7 separate regions of the Homo sapiens genome follow, and regions 1, 3, 4, 5, 6 and 7 are each linked to region 2. Evidence: promoter capture Hi-C in 16 types of primary human blood cells and fetal thymus (Javierre and others, 2016). All regions are on one chromosome and are shown on one strand. Each heading gives the region's core, a stretch centred on a gene start or on the middle of the fragment in contact. The rest is flanking DNA. Distances are from core to core; before and after follow the strand shown. Region 1 overlaps KLHL28 (kelch like family member 28). Region 2 holds the start of MIS18BP1 (MIS18 binding protein 1). Region 3 overlaps TOGARAM1 (TOG array regulator of axonemal microtubules 1). Region 4 has its middle 31 kb from the start of DORIP1. Region 5 overlaps TOGARAM1 (TOG array regulator of axonemal microtubules 1). Region 6 has its middle 19 kb from the start of DORIP1. Region 7 overlaps KLHL28 (kelch like family member 28).

Region 1 (3,112 bases), core at 151-2,650, 320 kb before region 2:
TTCCTAAACCACAAAAGTGGATTTGTTTTGTTTCTACGAACTCTGAAATACAACCCTTTTTGATCAACTATACCCCCTGGGGAAGAAAGAACATTTGAAAGTGAACATACAGATTACTGATATACAATAGAAAACAAAACAGAACAATCCGAGGATTGTATGTATGTAACATATGAAAAGATGACATTTGTTACATGGACAAAAGGAGCTTCTATAAATACACACTCTAGTATAAGCATTTCCCAAAATGTATTCAGCAAGTTTGAGAAACAATAATATGCACATTGGCATATAAAAGTCACAATAAAGAAATCTATATACTTTTGTCTAGCTAATTGTCTTTCAAGTTTACCACATACAAGTCTTTTTTTTTTTTTTTCTGGACAAGTAATATTCCTACTGCTATATTCCAAGGAACTATTATTGCAAGCACATCATTATAGAAAACATTGCCTTACATGTTTAGAAATTAATAAATTCTTATTACCTGTTCTAGGTTCTTTCATTGGTCTACACACAGTCCACTGATTTTGATGAGGATCGTATCTTTCAATGCTGGACAAATGTGAGACTCCATTATGTCCACCCACCACAAAAATAAAGCCTAGCATGACACCCACGCCAAAGTGAATCCTTTTATCTGCCATGGATGCAACCATCTCCCAGGAGTCCTTACTTGGATCATAACGCTCCACACTGCAAATATTTAAAAAAAATTTAATTTACAGATCTTTTGTGTCATTCTTCCTGTCAAAGCAAAACTAAAACCCACTACAGCTTTAAAAGTTCACATAATAGAGAGATATTAAACAAGAGTAGTCTGCCACAAATGCTTAGGTTTTGCTGATAAGATTGCAAAGATAAAAGCTTACCTTGTAAACAAGGTGCAATTCCATATGCTATTCCATTATATTGTGCAAGCGGCAAAGTATATTAAGAGCATAGAACTTGGAGTCAGAAGACCTGGGTTCAAGTACTAATTCTGTATACCTAGGGCTGAACGAACCTTAACCCTACTGCTGTGGATTTGTGTAATCCTGAATAAGTCATTTCCTCTCACCTGCAAAAATGAGGATAGTGCAACCTGAAGGGATTCATATAAGAATAAAGTCAAATGAGTATGCACGTGACTTTGAAAACCACTAACTGAATACAGACTTTTTTTTTTTGTTCCTAAATTTTATTTATTTATTTTTGAGGCAGGTCTCGCTCTGTCACCTAGGCTGGAGTGCAGTGACAAGATCAGAGCTCACTGCAGCCTCAAATTCCGGGGCTAAAGTGATCTTTCTGCCTCAGCCTCCTGAGTAGCTAGGACTAAAGGTACATGCCCCCATGCCTGGCTTGAATACAGAGGTTTTTAGGATCTTCTATACAGTTAAGGGGAAAAGAAGAGGAAGAGAGGGGTGGGGGGTGGGGAGAAAAACCTTTATTTTTTTTCGTCACAGGAGAATTCATGTGGCTTACTGCAAAGCAATCACTGTAGATTGCATAGTACAAACTGGCTGATCATAATTATCTCAGGGTGATTTAGGAGTACTCAGGAATTTGAGTCAAGACTGTGTTTCAGAGAACGTGTGGCATTTCTAAGCTGCATTATGGAATCCAAATTAAATCAGAATTTTCAAAAAGGCTTCCCTAGAAAATTCTAGCAGCTGTTTAAGACTATGGTTTCCTCTGAAGGTGCACAAAGGCACAGAGGTAAGATTGTTGGGCTTGTTCTGGCCCTAACCTATTTCCTGAAAAAACCATAAGCATTTAACAGGCTGTGACACCATTCTGGAGTTCATAATAGAGACTGGGTAATGTTTCTGAAAGAACTCCAGGATAGAATCCATTAGACCAAAATCATTGAAGAAGAGTTGATGCACTGCAGCAAGACTTTCAAGATAATCAAATTTAAAATACTTAACCTTTTATCTTACAAATTTTGGGCAGAAGCTTTTCAAAGAATAGAAATGCATGTCTATGTCCCATATTTTTCCTTCAACTAAGGGCAAAAAATATAAATAAATAAAAGGAGGAATACTTTGGCTTCAATAGAAGTAAAAATTTACAGATGAAATGCTGTTGTGCCATCACTTTCTCAGTCAACAAACCTCAGTATTTGTAGAGGATTGGTTCCAGGATCCACCCCATCCCAAGGATACCAAAATTTGCAGATGCTCAAGTTCCTTATATAAAACAGTATAATATTTGCATATAAGCTACACGTATCCTCTTGTATACTTTAAATCATCTCTAGATTACTTATAATACTATGCAAATAGCTGTTATACTGTATTATTTTGTTTTTTATTATTGTAAATTTTTTCAAATATTTTTGATCCACAGTTGGATGGATCTGTGGATGTAGAACCCGTGGATATGGAGGGCTGACTGTATGCCCTGTCATTAAAATACTCACAATCAAAATAACACAAACCACTCTAATTACTATTAAAGATACAATCTTTTCTTTTCTTTCTTTCTTTTTTTTTTTTTTTGAGACAGGGTCTCACTCTGTTGCTCAGGCTGGAGTGTAGTAGTGCATTCAAGGCTCACTGCAGCCTCAACCTCCTGGGCTCAAGCAATCCTCCCACGTCAGCCTCCCAAAGTATTAGGATTACAGGCGTGAACCACCACACCTGGCCAAAGATAAAACCTTTGGAACATCAATTTTCAATAAAGGTTCAGAATTACGATTAATTTCTCATATAACTAGTTACTTCATACTTTTATTTTCTCATATATATTTCTCCTTTATTCAGATAAAACTACAGAATACAGATATCACAAATTCAAACTCCAGCACAAGTCAAATACCTGATGATACATGTATGATTACAGGAAAGAATTCAGAAAGGAATATTTAAATAAGGTTTTAAGTTTATGATGTGCTATAATATTGTATAGACACACAGGAATTAAATTTCTACTTCTTTATTCTATTAAGCAATACAATAAAAGATAATTTACATACTGTGCACATAGATGTACACACCACACAAAATCTAAAGTTGTCTAACTTCATCTTATTTTTAGGTTTCTGAGTTTTAAAATCTAGTCCATTTATAGTGAATGAATGTAAAATTTAATGAGAGGGATTTGATTGTTAGGTTTGTATTAAATTCCC
Region 2 (3,047 bases), core at 70-2,569:
TACTATTGACACGGAAATTCCACTTCTAACTTGTTTTTTCCTATAGAAACATCTGCGTAAGAATGCAAATATATATGTACCATAATTGCCGATATTTACTGAATATTTACATGCCAGCCACTATATAATCTAACAGCAACTCTAAAGAGTTAAGTACTGTTATTACTCCCAATTTGAAAAAAGAGAAATTAAGGTATAAGGTGGTTAAGTAAGCTGCCCAAGGTCACTTGACAATAAGTGAGAAAGAGGAACCGATTCTACCCGACTCCATAGCTTCAGTTATTTACCAACAGGCAACAGTCTACACACCCACTACACAGGGAAGTTCACTGCAGCATAAAATGAAATGAAACAACCCAGATGTCTACCAATAAAGGACAAAATAAATCCCGCCACATCCATACAATTTACTCTATGTATTCAATAAAAAGATATATATGTACTTATATGGAAAAGTATCCAAGAAACATTAAATTGAAAAAGAAAGTAACAACATAGAATTGCATTTGTTTAAAAAAATTTTTAAGTAAATAAATAAAACACATACAGGCATAGAGAAAAACTCTGGAAGCGGTGAACCAAATTGTAAACAGTGTTTATCTTTGAAGGCCAGGATGAAGTGGCCTACCATTTTCTTGAACTCCTGAGCTCAAAAGATCCACCCGCCTCGGCCTCCCAAAGTGTGGGATCACAGGCGTGTGCCACCGCGCCCGACCATTTTCTAAATAATTTTATTAACATCTAAAGATGTTTGCAACAAGCATGCAATTTAACCAGAAGAAAACATAAGCTGAATGATCAACTGCTTCTATAGCCCTGTGGGTCCTGGGGTCCCAAGGGGAAGAGTTGGGTACTGAGGAATACAATTTTCCCACTTGGTATTCTAAAAAAAAAAAAAAAAAATTTATTTTAGAACAAAGACCTAGAACGCTCACCATCGAAATAAATTTGAGCAATCGTGTTCTACTCTCTTAAGTACAGTAGACACGCAACAAGTAAACATCGAGTGCGAAGTATAAAATCCGTACCAAAGCCAGAAATCTACAAAAAAAATAAATAAAACCGCGTGAGCCGAGATGCTTAAAGGGCAGACGCCCACCATCTGCGGGGACCCGCGGTAGGAGGTTAGCGGAGGGCGCGGGGAGGACGTACCTTGGATGAAGAGCCTGGCAGGGAGAGACTGCCGCAGTTCCGGCTCGGCTCCGCGCGGAGAGAGGGCCGCACGCCGCCGGGCTCGCGCCTCAGGCCCACGGTGTATCCTGCCCGCGGCGGCCAGGCGCCAAGCGACGCTTACCTCCTCCGCGACGTTCTCTAACACACAAAACACTTCCGCAATTCAAATTTGAAGAGCCCGCCCTCCAGCCAGCCCGGGATTGGCACGCTCGGGAATTGCGCCACCGTGCGTCTCACAGGGACGCAAGAAAACTGCAGGCGGCCTCTGCACTCCGTGGACGGCAGTGTGTCCACAAAAAGTAGGCGACCCTAAGCTGTCACAGGCAGGGGGCGAGCTCCTCTAGTTGTCTTCAAAGTTCGTTTCGTCTTCGTAGGGCACGCGCCCACCCTGAATCCCGCCTTTCCTCTCGTGAAGCTCTGCCGGGACAAGGCTGACGTGGGACGACGTGGGACGCCGTGGGCCGCGAGCACGCCCCGGCACTACTGCGGCTAAGTTTGGCCTTTCCTGGTTGCCGTCCTCCCCTACAGGCTGTGCGCCGTAGCGGCTGTTATCCTTCTTTTCCGTCTCAGGAAAACAGCGTGCTTGGTGGGTTTGAGAGAACTTCTGTTTTTCTGTCCTCCATGTTTGAGGCGGAGAAAGAACATTTTGTTCTTGAGGTGATGATGGATTGAATGTAAAGTTACGCACAAAGTGGGATGTTTAGTTGGAACTGTTCCCTCAGGAAATACGATTTTTTGGGCGTGGGGGACAGGGTTTCGCTCTGTCGCCTAGGCCTGAGTGCAGTGGCGCAATAACGGCTCACTGCAGTCTGGAACTCCAAGGGATCTTCCCACCTCAGCCTCCGAGTAGCTGGAACTACAGGCGCGCGCGACCATGCTTGGCTTATTTTTATTTTGTAGAGAGGAGGTCTCACCATGTTGCCCAGCCTAGTCTGGAACTCCTGGGTTCAAGCGATCCTCCATCTCGGCCTCCCAAAGTGCCAGGATTACAGGCAACCGCACCGAGCCAGGAAGTGATTAATTTTTTTTTAAGTCACTTCACATTCCAGAAACATTAATCTCGACAACTCTAGGTTGCTGTAAGCAGCTTGTGACGGTGGCCCCCAGACTGCGTCCCGCTTTAGACTGCACCCAGTGAATCTCCACTCTAACCACCGCGGAGTGACCGGGTGTATTCTTCGCCTTGTATAGGGCACATTGGTTCAGTCTTGAAAGTAGAGAAGGGGAAGCCAGGGTAGTAAGGTGTGTTCTCAGCCCTGAACCCTGTCCAACTCCAGTCCTGCATGAAGTCTGTCCTCTTCCCCCCATCCGCATTTGTGACAACAGAGCTTCTTTTTATTTTATACTTCCATCTAAGAAAATTAGTCAACTTCTAGTCACATACCACATTTCCCCATTAAGAGGCTTTACTGAAAAGGTGGTAATTTTTTTTTAAAGTGACTTTTGCAGTCCCTTCTAAATCCTGCATGTACTAAATTTTGTACACACTGAATAATCAAAATCCAAAATATAAATTTAAAACATCCACGTGAATGCAAATAAGGAAAAACAGTTGGAGGTAGGGGGAAAGGAAGCAAACTTACCTGGATAAAATGAAGTTTCTTTCTTGTACACCATAATGAGAAAATGGTTGGACATGGATTTGCACTACTTTTTTGGGAAAAACCCACCTTAAAACAGGTTAAATGGCATGTATGAAATATACTTTGATAGAGGAAGTTTGAAGGGATGGTCATTCAGATTTTAAAGCACCTGAAATTGAGGTATAGGACGTTTCTGTGCCTGATGAAGATGGCCGTGGCTCACACATTTAGACAAAATAGGAACCCTGAAGTATTAACAGCAGGCACTCAGAAATGCACACTTTTTTTAAA
Region 3 (3,064 bases), core at 348-2,847, 270 kb before region 2:
GAACATTTTTTTCTTTAACATCAAATAATCTGTAATGGGATTTTTGATAGCTATTTAATATTATATAATATCGTGGTGTGTTTAACTTATCTCTTACTTTGGAATATTTAGACTTTTAATTCTGTTTTTGTTTCTGCTATTTAGTGGATTCTTTTTGTGCTCTGACATATTACAGATTGATAACCAGATTACTATGATATTTCAAGTTTGCATCTCTTTCTATGTATTTAGGAGTGTTTTAATGGGTTAGTGGCATCAAGTAAATCAGACATCATTAGCTGGCTACCATTTAGCTTTATTTTTCCTAACAGATTTCACTACAATGTGGTAGGAATCATAGTAGTCAGTAACCTAGACTAAAAAGTAAGGAGTATACTTGCTTCATGTGTATGTGGGCACGAGGTCTGTAGTTTTTTCAAGGTAGAGGAATTGATTATTGGAAGGTCACTGGGACATATAAAAGGGCAGTTTTAGTAGACTGTTACAGGCGGAGACCAAATTTAAAAGTTTATGAGGTGAATTGATGAGGAAACAGGCAGTAAGAAGTTATTCAGCATCTGTCTTTTTAATCATCTAATTTGTGCAAAACTGAGTGGGAGTTTATAAACTACTCTTTATAGCACTGCCGTAGGATTTTTGCCTCATTTAGTATTTAGCACATGTGAGTCATTTATTCCTTCTTCTCAATGATGGTAAACAGTATGATGGTAGGGACTGTTTTATTTTTTTGTTTAATTAGTTTTTGTTTTTGTAACAGCACTAACTACAGTGCTCTTCCCACAAATATCAACAAATACCTGTTAAATAAGAAAACATTTAAGGGTTTGACAGTGAAAGAAAAGACCAAGCAAGATAACAGCACAGGGATATAACAGGATAAGTTATTACTGTGCTTTATTTTTAAGTAAGGAACACCTGATTTGGAAGAGTCAGAAAGGAGCCATCTGTGAATTAAACATGCCGACTCTGTGTCTTTATTATGGTAGGTGTTAAACATGCAAAATGCAGGAGATTCAGTCTCTGCAGTCATACTGGAGAGGGAAAGGAAAGGAGATATGTTCCTAACTAAAGATTAAATGGGTCAAGAACACAAGTATAGAGAGAGGTTAGCTTTGGGATAGAGGAGGAAGTCTTTTTCTCTGAAGTTAAAGGAAAAACAAAGAGAAGATGACTTAAAATATTAAAAATTTTTGAGGTAGCAGGAAAGGGTGTGTGTTTTAAGTCAAAAGAAAGGAAGATATGAGTTTAGTGCAGTGTTTATCAAATTTTAATATGCAAATGAATTGCCTTAGGATCTTGTTAAAATACAGATTCTGATTTAGTTTGTCTAAACTGGGGCCTGAGCCTATATGTCAAATAAGCTCCTAGGTATTGCTGATGCTGGTGGTCTGTGAACCACTTTGTGAGAACAAGGCTTCCAGATTCTGTTAAACTAAGGGGCAATTAAAAATGAAAAATAGAACATTAGAGATTTTAAGAATGTGGGATTTAGAACAGTTAATATAACAAATTTGATAAGAAATTAGAAAAACTAAAATTATTAAATTGTACTAATGTGTTTGGTATGGGTTAATCCTAAAACTTGAGATTTTCCTTGGATGTTGGATTGTTTCTGAAAAGATTTAATTTTCTTTTTAAAATTATATTGTGATGCATGAAGAGTTTTAAAAACTTTTATTTTTTATGCTTGTGAAAATCATAAACGACACAAAAGCATATCTACTCTTAGTGTAAATGTTGCTTATGTCAGAGCTATGTAGAATGAACTGTTGGCAACAGGATATTTTACAGCAGAAAATGTAGAAGCTACTACCGGTATGTAAGTTTTTTGAGGCATTTGTTTTAGTCACCTTGCATGAATAGTGGGTAAACTAATTAAAATTTGGAGAACAATAAGAATATTAATTGCTATTTTATTTTTCATGTGGAAATTGAATTTAAGAAAGAGTTTATAGGACAAAACTTGTTATTACCTTAACATATGATTATGAGATATGTGTCTACAGATAAATGTTACAATGTTTATTAAGAGTAACAGTATTTAAAGCAAAGTAAGAAAGTGAGAATATCCATATCTTTTAGAAGAAATAAAGCGGTTAAAATGATTTAAAACAGACTAAAGACATGGAAAATATTTTAATGGTACATAATAATAATAATATTAAAAATATATCCATTTTTGTGAACTCACCATTTCTGTGATTGTTAATATATCTTTAGACACATACAAACATGGAATTAGATAACATCTAAAATTTCAAAAATTTTAAATAAATTTAAACATAATTAACCTTAAAAGTATATTAAATAAGACAATGTATATATTATATTTATTGTTATCATCTTAAAAAAGCTGTAACAGCTAGAGGCAGTGGCTTGTGCCTGGAATCCCAGCAATTTGTGAGGCTGAGGCTGGAGGATCACTTGAGGCCTGGGCAATATACGAGACCCTGTCTCTAAAAAAAAAAAAATGCAAATAAATTAGCTGGGCGTGGTAGTGAGTGCCTGTAGTCCCAGCTGCTTGGGAAGCTGACGTAGAAGGATCGATAGAGCCCAGGAGTTCAGGTGTGCAGTGAGCTATGATCGTGCCACTGCACTCCAGCCTGGGTGACAAAGTGAGACCTCATCTCTAAAAAAAATAAAAATAATTAAAAATAATAATTAAAAAAGAAAATGGAAAAAAGAGCTATACCAGTTCCCTTAATAATGGGCAAAGCATATCGATTACCTTGTATACATATTTCTATTTCCCTGTAACTTTTGTACCTAGGAAAATGTCAGCTTTATGTATTAAATACAACTTTACCCAAATAAACCAACTTTTGTTTCCTGTCAGACACAGAGAAAACCAAAAGTCATGTAACCAAAACTATCTTTTTTTTTTTCTGAGATGGAGTCTCGCTCTGTCACCCAGGCTGGAGTGCAGTGGCGCAATCTTGGCTCACTGCAACCTCTGCCTCCCAGGTTCAAGTGATTCTCCTGCCTCAGCCTCCTGAGTAGCTGGAATTACAGGGGTGGACCACCACGCCTGGCTAATTTTTGTATTTTTAGTAGAGACGAGGTT
Region 4 (3,048 bases), core at 463-2,962, 390 kb before region 2:
TCATTTCTGGAACAAACTCTTCAACCTCCACAGTAATATTTTGACAATTCTTTTCAAAAGGCTTCAGAGGCACATATGAAGAAGTAATACAATTTGATAAATCCACAGGAACACATTCTATTGTGATGTTTAACTGCCCAGGAATAATCTGCAGTTTGGTCTTTTCTGGCTTCTTATATTCTGATAGCAACTTGAGAACGTCTTCATTTGAAAGCTTGCTACTCTTGTTTATACAGAGAAGAAAATCTCCCATCCAGATAGAGAAAGCCTTGAGTATCTTTGAAAATGGATCTGGCAGCCCTAACAAAAGGCATTCTGTATTGTCCAAAATGGCTACACACTTGTTTAGCTGTCCTGGGCACCTTCTGGGCCGTCTTTACTGAATCAGAATTTTTGATGTAGGGTTCTGCATGGTATGTAATGTTTCCCTGTAGCACCTTTTCGATTCTCGCAGCTAGAAAAATTTCAGGATGTGGATTCATCACTGAGAAAATTCCCTGTTTTATGTAGCATAACTGAGATTCAGAAATTCCATGAATGAAAGACTCAGGTGAAGAGCCCTTTGGGTTACTGTCACTGCACAGTTGGATTGAAGAGCCCCACAGCATTTCATGGACAGATGGGGGATTCAAGTCTACATGAAAGTCTGCTGAAATCTCACAATTGTTCTTTACATCAAATAAGGCAAGACTGATTTTAAAAAAGGGTGGGGGGCTCAACATTTGTGGGTGGTCCTTTTGCATTGTCTCCAATTTGGCCCAAGATATTGAAAGTTAAATCATGGCAATTTACCAGGAAACGTTTGTTGCACTTTTCTTCAAATGGCTTTATATCAGGTTCAATTCCTGAAAAGTCCAACCTCTGAACTTCTGAATCAAAAGAAAAGAGATTCTGTCTTCCATCTCCGCTACTGAGTTTGTTTAGTTGTTCAGTTTCTCTTCCATACTTCATCATTTCCGGATGCATGCTCCTTTCCAAACTTGCCATGATGTTATCGGCTTTTCGTTGGCTACTAGTTTCATCATCTGAACATCAATGCAGGCATCCAAGTAGATGCAACCTTTCGATTCTTTTGAATTTTTCTCATCTTTATAGGAATTGAGAATATATTAACCTCAGGAAGTTGGGTCAAGTAAAAATATCGTCTCTTGAATACCTTCGTGGTTACTGTGATGGTGCTATTTACATTTGCCTTATGCAACCAGCCTTGTTTTATCACACCACCCTTCTGATAACATAAAGCAGGTAAGTCCTTATCTTTCTCACAGTCTTCATCTATCTCAAATACGTGATTAGGAATTTTTTCTGGTCTCAAAGTTTACCACGTGCCAATCTGTGCTACAGGTTTTAATACACTCTTTGACAAATAAACTCTGGGCCCTCTTTTCGTCTTCTGGTACAGTGGATTGCACCGTTCTGTGCTGACGACCCATCACCGAGACAGATATATCTTCCTTGGGAAACATAAGCAGATCTCTGAGGGGGTTGCTGTAAATCTGGGTTTTTATTTGGGCGATAACATTCTCATAGTCCAGGGGGTCAACAACTTTGGACTTTTCCAGCACCAAGGAGCCCCACACGGCCTCTGACACTCTGCCAGAGTTCAGCTGCTGTGCCCAATTTACATCTTTTATATGTCATGTATCTATTAACAAATTATTGTAGCTATTGTTTTTTTTAATATATCATTTAATTTTTATATAAGTGAAAAGTGAGCTGGCCCTGTTCCTTGGTCAGCAAGTAGACAGTCCTGCAGTCTGAGTTCACAGGGGCCAGCCTGCTGCCTATGTCTACTGGAAAAGATCTGGGGCCTGAGTCTGCGTGGATGGGCCTGGTGCCTGAGTCTGCAGTGGTAAGCCTGGAGCCTGGGTCTGTAGGGGCTGGCTTGGCCCTTGGGCCTAAAGGAGCAGGCATGGAGTCTGGGATCACTAAGACCAGCCCAAAGCCTGGGTCCACACAGACTGACCTGGCACTGCGGCAGGGCTGATGTCTGGGTCTGTGGACATGGGCCTCTTCCTGAGTCCTCAGGAGCTGGCTGGGTGTCACAGTTTACCCAGGATACCTTGGGGTAGGCTTAGTACCTGTGTCTATAGGAACAGGCCTGGTACCTGGGACTATGAGGGCAGGCCTGGAGACTGGGTTTTGGGGGATAGGCCTGGAGCCAGTGTCTAATGGAGCTAGCCTATACTCTAAGTCCATTGGAGCATATGGCTTTAGGGATGATCTGGAGGCTATTGCCCCATGGGCCTCCCTGGTACTGGGGCAGGTCTGGAGCCTTCCAACCACAGGAATGGGCCTAGAGTTTGGGACCACAGATGCCAGCCTGATGCTGGAGCAGGCCTTGGGTCTGGGGCTGCAGGGACTGACCTGAAGCCTGAGACCATAGGGGCTGGCCTTGTGCCCGTGTTCACTGGACCAGACCTGGTGCTGGGATCCACAGTGAAGTCTGCTCACTACACTCTCTTTCCCTCATGTGATGGGTCTCTTTCTGCACTGCACTGTTTAGGTTTGGGGGAGCAGTGATGCTGGCAACATGAAACTGTCCTTCCTACCCTCTTAAATATGCCTTTTCTTATATCCGTGCTCTACCCAGGTGCTGTAATCTCTCATCTGGATTCCTTGGCTCTTACAAAGGTATTTTTGTACATGCGTGGTTGTTCAAATTGATGTTTCTTCAAGGGGATGAGTGCCAGAAACTCATATTCTGCCATCTTGCTGATGTCAGCTCCTCTAATACCCAAGACAGCAGAGGAACAACTGTTTTTTTCAGATAGAGCTCTGGACTTGAGGTTCTTTTTAAATAGAGACTTCATACAAAAGATCTCCAGTCTGTCTACATTTTCAAACATAGAATCTATAATTCAGTGACTGCCAGGTTCTCAAAAAACTGTTAGTTCTTTACCCATCAATCCCAGAAGATTCATTAATCAGGGAGTAATTGGGATATATCACCAGGCTAGGAGTTCTCTACCATCAATGAACAGAAGAGGAGGTATATAGTCCCAGCATTTCTCCTCTCACCTCTGTACCCTCTCCTCCTTAGATGAT
Region 5 (3,528 bases), core at 1,023-3,522, 290 kb before region 2:
TTTTCATGGCATTGGCCTTTTATAAAAAGAGTTTGGGGTAGTTTTGTAGAATGTCCCAAGTTTTACATTTATATGTTTACTTGATTAGATTCAAAATAAATATTTTTAGGAAAATATTACATAGGAGATACATATATATTAAGTAGAAGATAAGTAGTGTGAACTTCACAGTACATTACATTATGAGGCAAATGATATCAGGCTGTCCCATCACTGGTGATGCTTAATTTTACTGTTTGGATAAGGTGGTAATAGCCAGATCTCTCCATTGTAAAGGTATATTTTCCTCTTTAGAATTAGCATATAATCAGTACAGTGATACTTTGAGACCCTAAGAATACCCCGACAACTTTTCACCCACTGTGTTTAGCATCCACCAATGGTCTTTACCTGTATCATTTATTACACTGGGGGCTTACAAATAGTAATTTTTTTTTTTTTTTTTTTTTTTGAGATGGAGTCTCGCCCTGTTGCCCAGGCTGGAGCGCAATGGCGCAATCTCAGCTCACTGCAACCTCTGTCTCCCAGGGTCAAACGATTCTCCCACCTCAGTGTCCTGAGTAGCTGAGATTACAGGCTCCCACCACCACGCCCAGCTAATTTTTGTATTTTTAGTAGAGACAGGGTTTCACCATGTTGGCCAGGCCTGTCTCAAACTCCTGACCCACCCGCCTCGGCATCCCAAAGTGCTGGGATTACAGGCGTGAGCCACCATACCCAGCCCAAATTGTAATTTTTAAATTACAAAGGCCAGGCAGGGTGGCTCACACCTGTAATGCCAGCACTTTGGGAGGCTGAGGCAGGCAGATAACCTGAGGTCAGGAGTTGGAGACCAGCCTGGCCAACATGGTGAAACCCCCGTCTCTACTAAAAATACAAAAATTAGCTGGGTGTGGTGGCACACACCTGTAATCTCAGCTACTCGGGAGGCTGAGGCAAAAGAATCACTTGAACCCAGGAAGCAGAGGTTGCAGTGAGCTGAGATCACACCACTGTACCCCAGCCTAGGCAACAGAGCAAGACTGCATCTCAAAAATAATAATAATACTAAAATAAATTAATTACAAAAAGAGTAATTTTAAAAAATTGTGACATTTCTTCTCTGTTTACTACCTGCAATTCTTTTTTTCTTGTATGTGTAATAATTACATATTATTTTTTGTTACTAAATTTTTTTTAACTTTTTCATGATAAAATTGTCCCAAATTTAACTAGTGGCTGGCTCCTGTGTCCTTTTAACATGACTGTTCTTTAGTCTTTGATTATTTCCTTAACATAACATTTGGACGATTGCTTGAGGCCAGGAGTTCGAGACCAGCCTGGGCAACATAGTGAGATCCCCATCTCTACAAAAATAAAAAAACTTAGCCAGGCATGGTGGTGCAGGCCTGTAGTCCCAGCTACTTCGGAGGCTGAAGTGGGAGGATTGCTTGAGCCCAGGAGTTCCAGACTGCAGCAGTGAGCCATGATTGTGCCACTGCACTCCAGCCTGCTCAAGAGTGAGACCCAGACTCAAAAACAAAATAAAACAAAACAAGAGTAACATGATGCCTAGCCTTACTTTGGTTTTTTTTTTCTTGCTTCAGACCTGGAATCAGCCATTTTTTTCAGAAGTCCTAGTACTGCCTTTTTATTGGGCAGTGGTATTTGAAAACAAAAGTCTGAGTATAGATTTGCTCATTGCTATTTCTTGCCATTGTGGTTTGACCCTTTCAGTGGACAGAACCAAGGAGTACTTGTTTTTTGTTTGTTTGTTTTTTAATGCATTTATATTAATACCTCCAATTCAAAACTAGTACTGCAGGGTTCTTTCTCATCTTCCTTTATTCCATATTTGAATCTCCCTTCGTTCACAATAAAATCCCTGCTACCCAACATCAGTAATATTTATTCATATGCTGTATCCTACAGTAACCCCCCTCCCCCCACAAAATTGCTAGACCAGCAACAGCAACCAACTACCTACTAAGTAAAGTTTAAGATTTCGTTACAGTTCTTTTTGTATTTAGAATTATTCCACAGTCAGAATTTTGTGGTCAAACTTTTCTTAAATTAAGTCTTTTATCTATGTAATTATTATTCAAACAGCATGATGAAAGATGAATAGGAGCTTGCTAAGTGTGGATAGGTCCCAGTGAATTTCAGACTAAAGGAATAGCGTGTTTAGAGACACTGATTATGTGAAAGAACTTAGCAAATTAATAAGAGAATGGGGAATTTTTGCACAGCAAACACAAGGGGCCTAGTGGGAAGTAGCAGATGATACTGGAGATGTAGATGGGGTAAAGTATGGAGATAATATCTTGCAAATAATGAGTTTGAACCTTCTGCAGTAGACCTCAGATGGGAGGAGGTGAATTGAGTGTTCTCTATGGTTCCTTTCAATCCCAAAACTTGTAGATTTTTTTGGAAATAATTTTCAGATTTATATAATCTGGTTATATGTTATTTCCTTGTATTATAAGCATTATCTGGTAGTGATGATTTTTTTTAAGGCATTACTCTTAAGACTGCTTGTCATGTGTCAAGTCTGAGATGTCAGTGTATATATTATTAAAAAGATTCTGGTGCCGGCCAAAGCAAAAAGAATCTGAAGATAAGTGCATTTCTGAAATGCCAGCATAGACATATTTTGCTTTTGAAAGATGCTGTGGTGTAATTAAAACTTAACCCAGAAATCAAGTTGTAATTACTTGTTCAAAAAAGGTCTTAGAAGAACTATTTTAATAGAGGACAGGGAATAAATATCTAAACAGTTTTATGTGTGCAGTTTAAAAAAAGTATATATACATGCATATTTTAAATTATTAGACTTTATTTTTTATTTATTTATTTTGAGACGGAGTTTCACTCTGTCGCCCAGGCTGGAGTGCAGTGGCGCGATCTCGGCTCACTGCAAGCTCCGCCTCCCGGGTTCACGCCGTTCTCCTGCCTCAGCCTTCCGAGTAGCTGGGACTACAGGCACCCGCCACCATGCCCAGTATTTTTAGTAGAGACGGGGTTTCACCGTGTTAGCCAGGATGGTCTCGATCTCCTGACCTCGTGATCTGCCCGCCTCGGCCTCCCAAAGTGCTGGGATTACAGGCGTGAGCCACCGCGCCCGGCCTGGACTTTAATTTTTAAAGCAGTTTTAGGTTCTCAGCAACTTTCAACAGAGAGTACAGATAGTTCCCATATACCCCTGTCCACACAAGAACAACCTGACCCACCTCATCCGGTACTTTAGGGGTACATTTGTTATAATCAGTGAACCCATATTAACATATAATTATCACCCAAGGCCCATAGTTTACATTAAGATTCACTCTTGTGTTGTACATTCTATGGGATTTTGGCAAATGTATCCATGTCTTATGTTCAGTACATTCTGTGGGGTTTTGACAAATGTATCCATGTCTTGTATCCACCATTATAGTATCATAACAATAGTTTCAGTGCCCTAAATTCTCTGTTCTCTACATGTACATTCTTCCCTCTCTCACCCCATTCCCAAGCCTTAGCAACCAGTGGTCTTTTTTTCTGTCTCCA
Region 6 (3,407 bases), core at 657-3,156, 340 kb before region 2:
TCTGTTCTGTGATACTACCTACTCATAAGTCGGGGGAAATATACAACCAAGATGCGTTTGATAAAGTTGGCTGTGCTCTCTGCCAACATTCCCGCTAAAATATTATTTGTAAACTGACCCCTGGGGTTTCTTCACCTATTTCCTCCCAACCCTCATGGCTTCTGAAATTTCCCCCTCTTCCTTCAGCTCTCTTTTTGAGAAGGCTTAGGAATTTTATCCTCAGCAAGCTTATAAAATGCCAGAAGACCTAATTTAGGATTGTCCTTTTTCACCCAGGAAAAAGACTGGATTTGCAGACTAAGTGAATCATGCTATATGATCAATGAATTATCTCTTTTATCATTAGTTCTTGATTGATTGTGTTTTCAGGCTGTCGAGGAAAGGCAAGAATATGGCAGTTAAATCCGGATTTTGAAGTTAGATTGCCTGGATTCAAATCCAGGCTCAGTCATGGGCTGTGTAGCTTTGGGCATGTGACTTAACCTATTTGTTTCCTCACTGTAAAGTGGAGATAATACTAGAATATATCTCATAAGGTTGTAGTGAGGATTAAATGAATTACTATATATAGCACTTACTGCCTGACACATAGTAAGCACTATGAAAGTGCTAGCTGCTGAGGCAGGAGAATAGGGAATTAGGGTAACCAAGGGTTAATGCATAAGCAAAAGAACAGCAGGCGCAGATAGTTCTAGGCAAGATTAGGCAGCATACAGGCTACATCTTGGCTCCTGTGATAACAAGACAGAAGTTTCCGCTTCAATCTGTGATTGACTGCAGGGCAAGCCTCCACTTCAGCCTCTGGTTGGTCGTAGGCCAATCCTTCATAGGGTGTAACCAACTGGAGGCCTCCAAATGTTATGTAGGGGTGTTGCCCATGTTCTTTTGGCTTTATAAAAACCTTGGGGAGCATTTCAGTAGCGGGACTCTTGAGCTGCCTCTTGAAGCCCATTCCCAGTCTGTGGAATGTACTTTCACTACAATGAATCTGTGTTTTCATTACTCTATTCTTTTGTTGCTTTGTCTTTTGTTGTTTCTTTCTTTTGTTACTTTGTGTATTTTGTTCAATTCTTTGTTCAACACGCCAAGAACCTGGACAATTCACAGTTAAGAACTTCCCACCCAGTAACATTACCATTATGGATTCCTCTTTCAATATTTTATTAAGAAATTACAGCAAATTAGTGTGTAGTGTTGTTGCAGAAAATTAAATTCTATGCAAATATTTCAAGTTTGTTGGCTGAAAACCATTGCTGGTATTTCTGTGGAAATGAAGATCACAGAACAAATTACAATGTAAAAATAGTTTTAAAAAGTTAAATACATGAATTAGTTTAAAATGCAAGAACAAAGCAAAGCAAAAATTTGAAGAGAAAGTGAATAAAGTTTCCTAGACATCAAATGGTAAAATATCCCATATTGTTCCTGTTCAAAATCTTTAACCATTTAACCACCAGATACTATCCAAAATTGTTTATCCCCCTACCATAGTCTTCAGTGTTTATGTCTGCCCACAATTCATATGTTGAAACTCTCATCCCCAAAATGATGGCATTAGGAGGTGGGGCAAGGCAATTAGGTCATGACAGTGGAGCCCTCCTGGATGGGATTAGTGCCCTTAGAAAAAAGACCCAAGAGAGATGCCACACTCCTACTACCATGTGAAGGCATAGCAAGATTACGCCTATGAACCAGAAAAAAAGTGTTCTTACCAGAAACCAAATCTGCCTTTATCTTGGACTTCCCAGCCTCCAGAACTGTGGGAAATAATTTCTGTTGCTTATAAGCTACTCAGTTTATGGTATTTTGTTACAGCAGTCCAAATGAACTAAGATACCACCATGTATACATACACATATACACACTATATATGTGTGTATATACACACACATATACACACTATATATGTGTGTATATACACACACATATACACACTATATATGTGTGTACACACACACACACACACTATATATGTGTGTACACACACACACACATACACACTATATATGTGTGTACACACACACACACATACACACTATATATGTGTGTACACACACACATATACACACTATATATGTGTGTACACACACACACATATACACACTATATATGTGTGTACACACACACACATATACACACTATATATGTGTGTACACACACACACATATACACACTATATATGTGTGTACACACACACACATATACACACTATATATGTGTGTACACACACACACATATACACACTATATATGTGTGTACACACACACACATACACACTATATATGTGTGTACACACACACACATACACACTATATATGTGTGTATACACACACACATATACACACTATATATGTGTGTATACACACACATATACACACTATATATGTGTGTATACACACACATATACACACTATATATGTGTGTATTCACACATATACACACTATATATGTGTGTGTATACACACATATACACACTATATATGTGTGTATACACACATATACACACTATATATGTGTGTATATACACACACATATACACACTATATATGTGTATACACACACATATACGCACTATATATGTGTGTATACACACACATATACGCACTATATATGTGTGTATACACACACATATACGCACTATATATGTGTGTATATACACACACATATACGCACTATATATGTGTGTGTATATACACACACATATATGCACTATATATGTGTGTGTATATACACACACATAAATACACTATATATGTGTGTGTATATACACACATATATACACTATATATGTGTGTGTATACACACATATATACACTATGTGTGTGTACACATACATATATACACTGTGTGTGTACACTCACATATATACACTGTGTGTGTACATATATACACTATGTGTGTGTACACTCACATATATACACTGTGTGTGTACATATATACACTGTGTGTACACTCACATATATACACTGTGTGTGTACACACATATACACTGTGTGTACACACATATATACACTGTGTACACACACATATATACACTATGTACACACACATATATACACTGTGTACACACACACACGCACTGTGTGTGTGTACACGCACACACGCACTGTGTGTGTGTACACGCACACACGCACTGTGTGTGTGTATATACGTATATACACCATATATGTGCGTATATACGTATATAGTGTGTGTACATATGTATATATACACATATAGTGTGTGTATATATGACTTTGATATATATTTCTATATGTCTTAGACATATATAGATATACACATATATCTATATATAGACATACACATATACGTATATATAGACATATATGATATTGGTCTTTTAAAATCTGGCTATAAAACTTTTCCCAGACATACTCCTCTATTCAGTGGGAACCACCTACTCTATA
Region 7 (3,291 bases), core at 714-3,213, 300 kb before region 2:
TTTGTTTTAAGCAACTGAGTTTGTGTAATTTGTTACAGTAACCTTAAGAATTAATACATGGATATTTCAGAATGGATTGTAGCAGCTGCTTAGAGTAGACAAAAGGAATACAGGTCATGTATACAATATAAGCTATTTCCTTCCTGTCTCACTCACATTTCAATCACAAGTTATGGCAATAACGAAAAAGTACATTTGGTTTCCATCTTAAAACCATCAATTCTATAAATTCAAACATTTTGAACACTATTGAGAGAGTATAGCACTTCATTCTTATACATTTTTAAGTGGAAAAAATCCAACTCTTGAAATTTTTATCTTTGTCAAGTACGTAATTGTTTCATACTTATTTCACAATGAATTTTAAGTCAGTTAATAAATTATGTTAATATGGCCACTTTCCAGCTGGTAACAGCCTCCACTGCTGATCTCTGCAAATAATCTCACACCTATCTACTAGAAAAATTCTCAAATGTTATTGCAGTCATGGTATAAACAAGTCCCAAGAAGCTTCTGGGTCTTCCAGTAGGTACTTTTTTTCCAGAACATAATATATACTAGTAAGTAGATGGCAATCAGAAGGCATAAGTTTAGATCTGTACACGTTCTGTTAGTTATTCCAGTGTTGATCTTTTTAACCTATGTAACTTCTTTTAGCCTCAGTTTTATGAAAAAGTTAAAATCTAGACTTAAAAGTAAAGAATGAATAACAGGAAAGGCAAGTAGATAGAAAAAATAGGTAATGGGGTTAAGAAAGCAGTCCTCGTTAACTTTACCTTCTCAATCTTTGTTTTCCTTATTTGCAGAATGAGATCATAATAATACCTGTACTTTATTATTCAGGTATTAATGTAGCTGAGGTTTTTGAGGATCAAATCAGACAATGTACATAAAAACATGATAAACTGTAAGTGATATTGTACTACAGTAGTACTATGGTAGCAGTGAGGCGATAGAGATAAAACATATCAGTGAAGAACACAGACTTTGGAAATATAAGGTAATGAGTTTTAGTCCCATCTGAATCTTAAATTATATTATTAGGTGGAATAATAGGTACCAGCCTTTCTTAATCTAAGTATTAATTGTTTCATTCATAAAATAAGAATACCCCACTTATCTCAGAAGTTTACCTGAAAGTGATTCTCTAAAGTATAAAGTTCTACAAAATATACAGCTTGAGGTGTTAAGAATATAGTACTTACGTCTCACTGTACTAAATTGCCACTTCCCAATATCCCCACTTTCACTAATTCCCATTCTTTCCCACAATGACCTTTTACTCTTATGATGCTCATGTAATGACTATAGCTCTATATAAAACTTGCTATCTCCCAAATATTTTCTTACCACACGTTAGATTTTGTCTATAACCTTTCTCCTCTGATCTTCCTTTCCTCCAATTCAAATTCTCAAAACTCAAGATCAAAAATTAACTTTACCTGGACGTCTATAAGCATTTATTTACTATATCCCTTTACATGCAATTAATTCAATTATACGTGTTGCTCTGTAAAACATACCCCTTTCAACTCTCATTTTCTGATTTAACAAGGAGAATGGTAGACTAAAAAGTGAAGGATGAACAACAGAAAAGGAAAATGTATGCGAAAAATAAGAGAAGGGATTGAAAAAGGAGACCTAGTCACTTTGTAAATTCATCTCTCTCTCAGACTAAACAATTATGTTTCAAGATATTTAAAAGAGCCTGCAAATGAGATTATTGAATCATTACCAGTGCCACAGGACTGAAGACTATTTTCAAAAATAAGACAGTAAATTCTACAATATGGTAAGATTTCTGTTAATTTCAGATAACATTCTAAAACAAATTATTAAAGATTTGACTTGTGAATACCGATAAGAAGATGTAGAGATCTTTAGGATTAGGATATATGAGCTAAAAATAATAAGACATGTTACAGACTAGGTTTGTTTCTTTTTAAAAATTTATTTAGAAGACTTGTAGATCAGAAAAGTAGACTTGATATTTAACTAGATATTAGTAAATAATTTTATAATGCCCTTCATGATTTTTCAAAGAACAAAACTAAAAAAATATATAAGCTAGTTCAGTTAGCTAAATCAGCAACTAGTGGAACAAATACCCCCCAGAGTATACCACTTAATGGAATGAGGCCTAGAGGGATGCTTCTAGTGGTATTCTGTAAGGCCAAGATGAAGATATTTTATGTCCTGAACTTTGAAGATGACATGAAGCTGCAAAGGACAGCAAAAGCATTGACTAACACAATAAGGATCCTGAAAGACTTATATCTAACAAGAAGAAATTTAAAAGGGATAAATGTAAAAATTCTATAGCAGATTCCAAACCAACTACCCAAGTATAGAATAAGAGAGAAAAGACGCATCTGTAGAACGTGTTTAACAGGTTTAGGGATTTTAATTGCAGTACTATTTTAACACCATAAACTTATGTGGGTTTAAGCTGCATTAACAGAACTATAATATACAGAACTACAGAGGAGAAATTTTTGCTTTGCTCTGCAAATGTCAGTCCATATCTGTACTACAGATTTTGGGTATCATCCTTTGACAGGGATCTAAACAGACTGTAACACCTGATGAACAGCAGAAATTCAAATCATGTCTTACAGGTAATGGAACAGAGGTACTGAGTCTGGGAAAAAAGGAGGTCTGAGTTATCACATGAAAAACCAAGGAATGAAGGTTACTCAACAACAACAGGAATAATAATTATAATATAGGGTTGTTTTGAGGATTAAACGAGTTTATACATAAAAAGGGCTCAGAATAGGGCCTATCACTTAGTAGGCTCTTAATAAATATGAGTTATTACTAGTAAATTCTTCGAGTTGTCCCTTGAGAAGTAGTCAACTTTCTATGTTGCACTACCTCTCACTATTAGATAAGAAACCCACTCTGTCTTCTCTGATACCCTGGGCAACACAAGTATCACAGAATTGTTGATTCTCAAATCAAGGTTATGAAGTATTGACTAGATTCATTTTTAATATAATTAGGAATCACATAGTGATAGATCCTATATTGTTAACCTAATTTTTGTGTACCCAATTCAAAACTGGTACACCATCAACATATGACACGCAAAAATGACACAACATAGGTCTGTAAATACACACATACATGTATGTACACACACAACACATAAATATACACACATGCATATATTTGTATGATATGCAGTATAGTTTTAAGAGACTGGGCTTTGGTACCAGGCTTCCCGGGTTACAATACAATGGTCTGTATTATGTGACCTTGGGAAATTCAGTCAAAAGTTTCAGTTTT

Evidence for each region. Contacts are between HindIII fragments. The CHiCAGO score rates a contact against its expected background, and 5 or more counts as called.
Region 1: a fragment that was not itself captured here is called in contact with the fragment with the promoter of MIS18BP1 in region 2 in 17 of 17 cell types (activated CD4 T cells, total CD4 T cells, non-activated CD4 T cells and 14 more); the score reaches 17.6 in activated CD4 T cells.
Region 3: a contact is called between a fragment that was not itself captured here and the fragment with the promoter of MIS18BP1 in region 2, in 1 of 17 cell types (neutrophils). The highest score is 6.6, in neutrophils.
Region 4: a contact is called between a fragment that was not itself captured here and the fragment with the promoter of MIS18BP1 in region 2, in 2 of 17 cell types (non-activated CD4 T cells and total CD4 T cells). The highest score is 7.6, in non-activated CD4 T cells.
Region 5: a fragment that was not itself captured here is called in contact with the fragment with the promoter of MIS18BP1 in region 2 in 15 of 17 cell types (monocytes, total CD4 T cells, naive CD8 T cells and 12 more); the score reaches 13.9 in monocytes.
Region 6: a fragment that was not itself captured here is called in contact with the fragment with the promoter of MIS18BP1 in region 2 in 17 of 17 cell types (non-activated CD4 T cells, M2 macrophages, total CD4 T cells and 14 more); the score reaches 17.6 in non-activated CD4 T cells.
Region 7: a fragment that was not itself captured here is called in contact with the fragment with the promoter of MIS18BP1 in region 2 in 11 of 17 cell types (monocytes, total CD8 T cells, non-activated CD4 T cells and 8 more); the score reaches 8.4 in monocytes.

What each region holds. Positions count from the first base shown.
Region 1 is chr14:44,930,846-44,933,957 of GRCh38, forward strand. KLHL28 (kelch like family member 28) reads right to left here. Exons shown (of 5, transcript NM_017658.5): 4 at 488-696. Among named protein-coding and RNA genes, the nearest start is that of KLHL28, 30 kb to the right of the region's middle. The HindIII fragment of the contact is 1,071 bases long and covers 866-1,936 here.
Region 2 is chr14:45,251,883-45,254,929 of GRCh38, forward strand. It overlaps MIS18BP1 (MIS18 binding protein 1), which reads right to left and starts at 1,320. Exons shown (of 17, transcript NM_018353.5): 1 at 1,153-1,320. LOC107984674 (a long non-coding RNA gene) reads left to right here and starts at 1,409. Exons shown (of 4, transcript XR_001750746.2): 1 at 1,409-1,759. RefSeq lists enhancers at 1,289-1,348, 1,449-1,628, 1,538-2,487, 1,649-1,838, 1,909-1,968. The HindIII fragment of the contact is 13,340 bases long and covers 1-3,047 here.
Region 3 is chr14:44,982,145-44,985,208 of GRCh38, forward strand. All of the region lies in intron 1 of TOGARAM1 (TOG array regulator of axonemal microtubules 1), which reads left to right. Among named protein-coding and RNA genes, the nearest start is that of TOGARAM1, 21 kb to the left of the region's middle. The HindIII fragment of the contact is 3,843 bases long and covers 1-3,064 here.
Region 4 is chr14:44,864,624-44,867,671 of GRCh38, forward strand. It overlaps the pseudogene DOCK11P1. Among named protein-coding and RNA genes, the nearest start is that of DORIP1, 31 kb to the right of the region's middle. The HindIII fragment of the contact is 3,001 bases long and covers 213-3,048 here.
Region 5 is chr14:44,965,442-44,968,969 of GRCh38, forward strand. The region is part of intron 1 of TOGARAM1 (TOG array regulator of axonemal microtubules 1); the gene reads left to right. Among named protein-coding and RNA genes, the nearest start is that of TOGARAM1, 5.0 kb to the left of the region's middle. The HindIII fragment of the contact is 5,365 bases long and covers 1-3,528 here.
Region 6 is chr14:44,914,290-44,917,696 of GRCh38, forward strand. No RefSeq gene overlaps it. Among named protein-coding and RNA genes, the nearest start is that of DORIP1, 19 kb to the left of the region's middle. The HindIII fragment of the contact is 3,362 bases long and covers 226-3,407 here.
Region 7 is chr14:44,947,406-44,950,696 of GRCh38, forward strand. All of the region lies in intron 1 of KLHL28 (kelch like family member 28), which reads right to left. Among named protein-coding and RNA genes, the nearest start is that of KLHL28, 13 kb to the right of the region's middle. The HindIII fragment of the contact is 2,911 bases long and covers 509-3,291 here.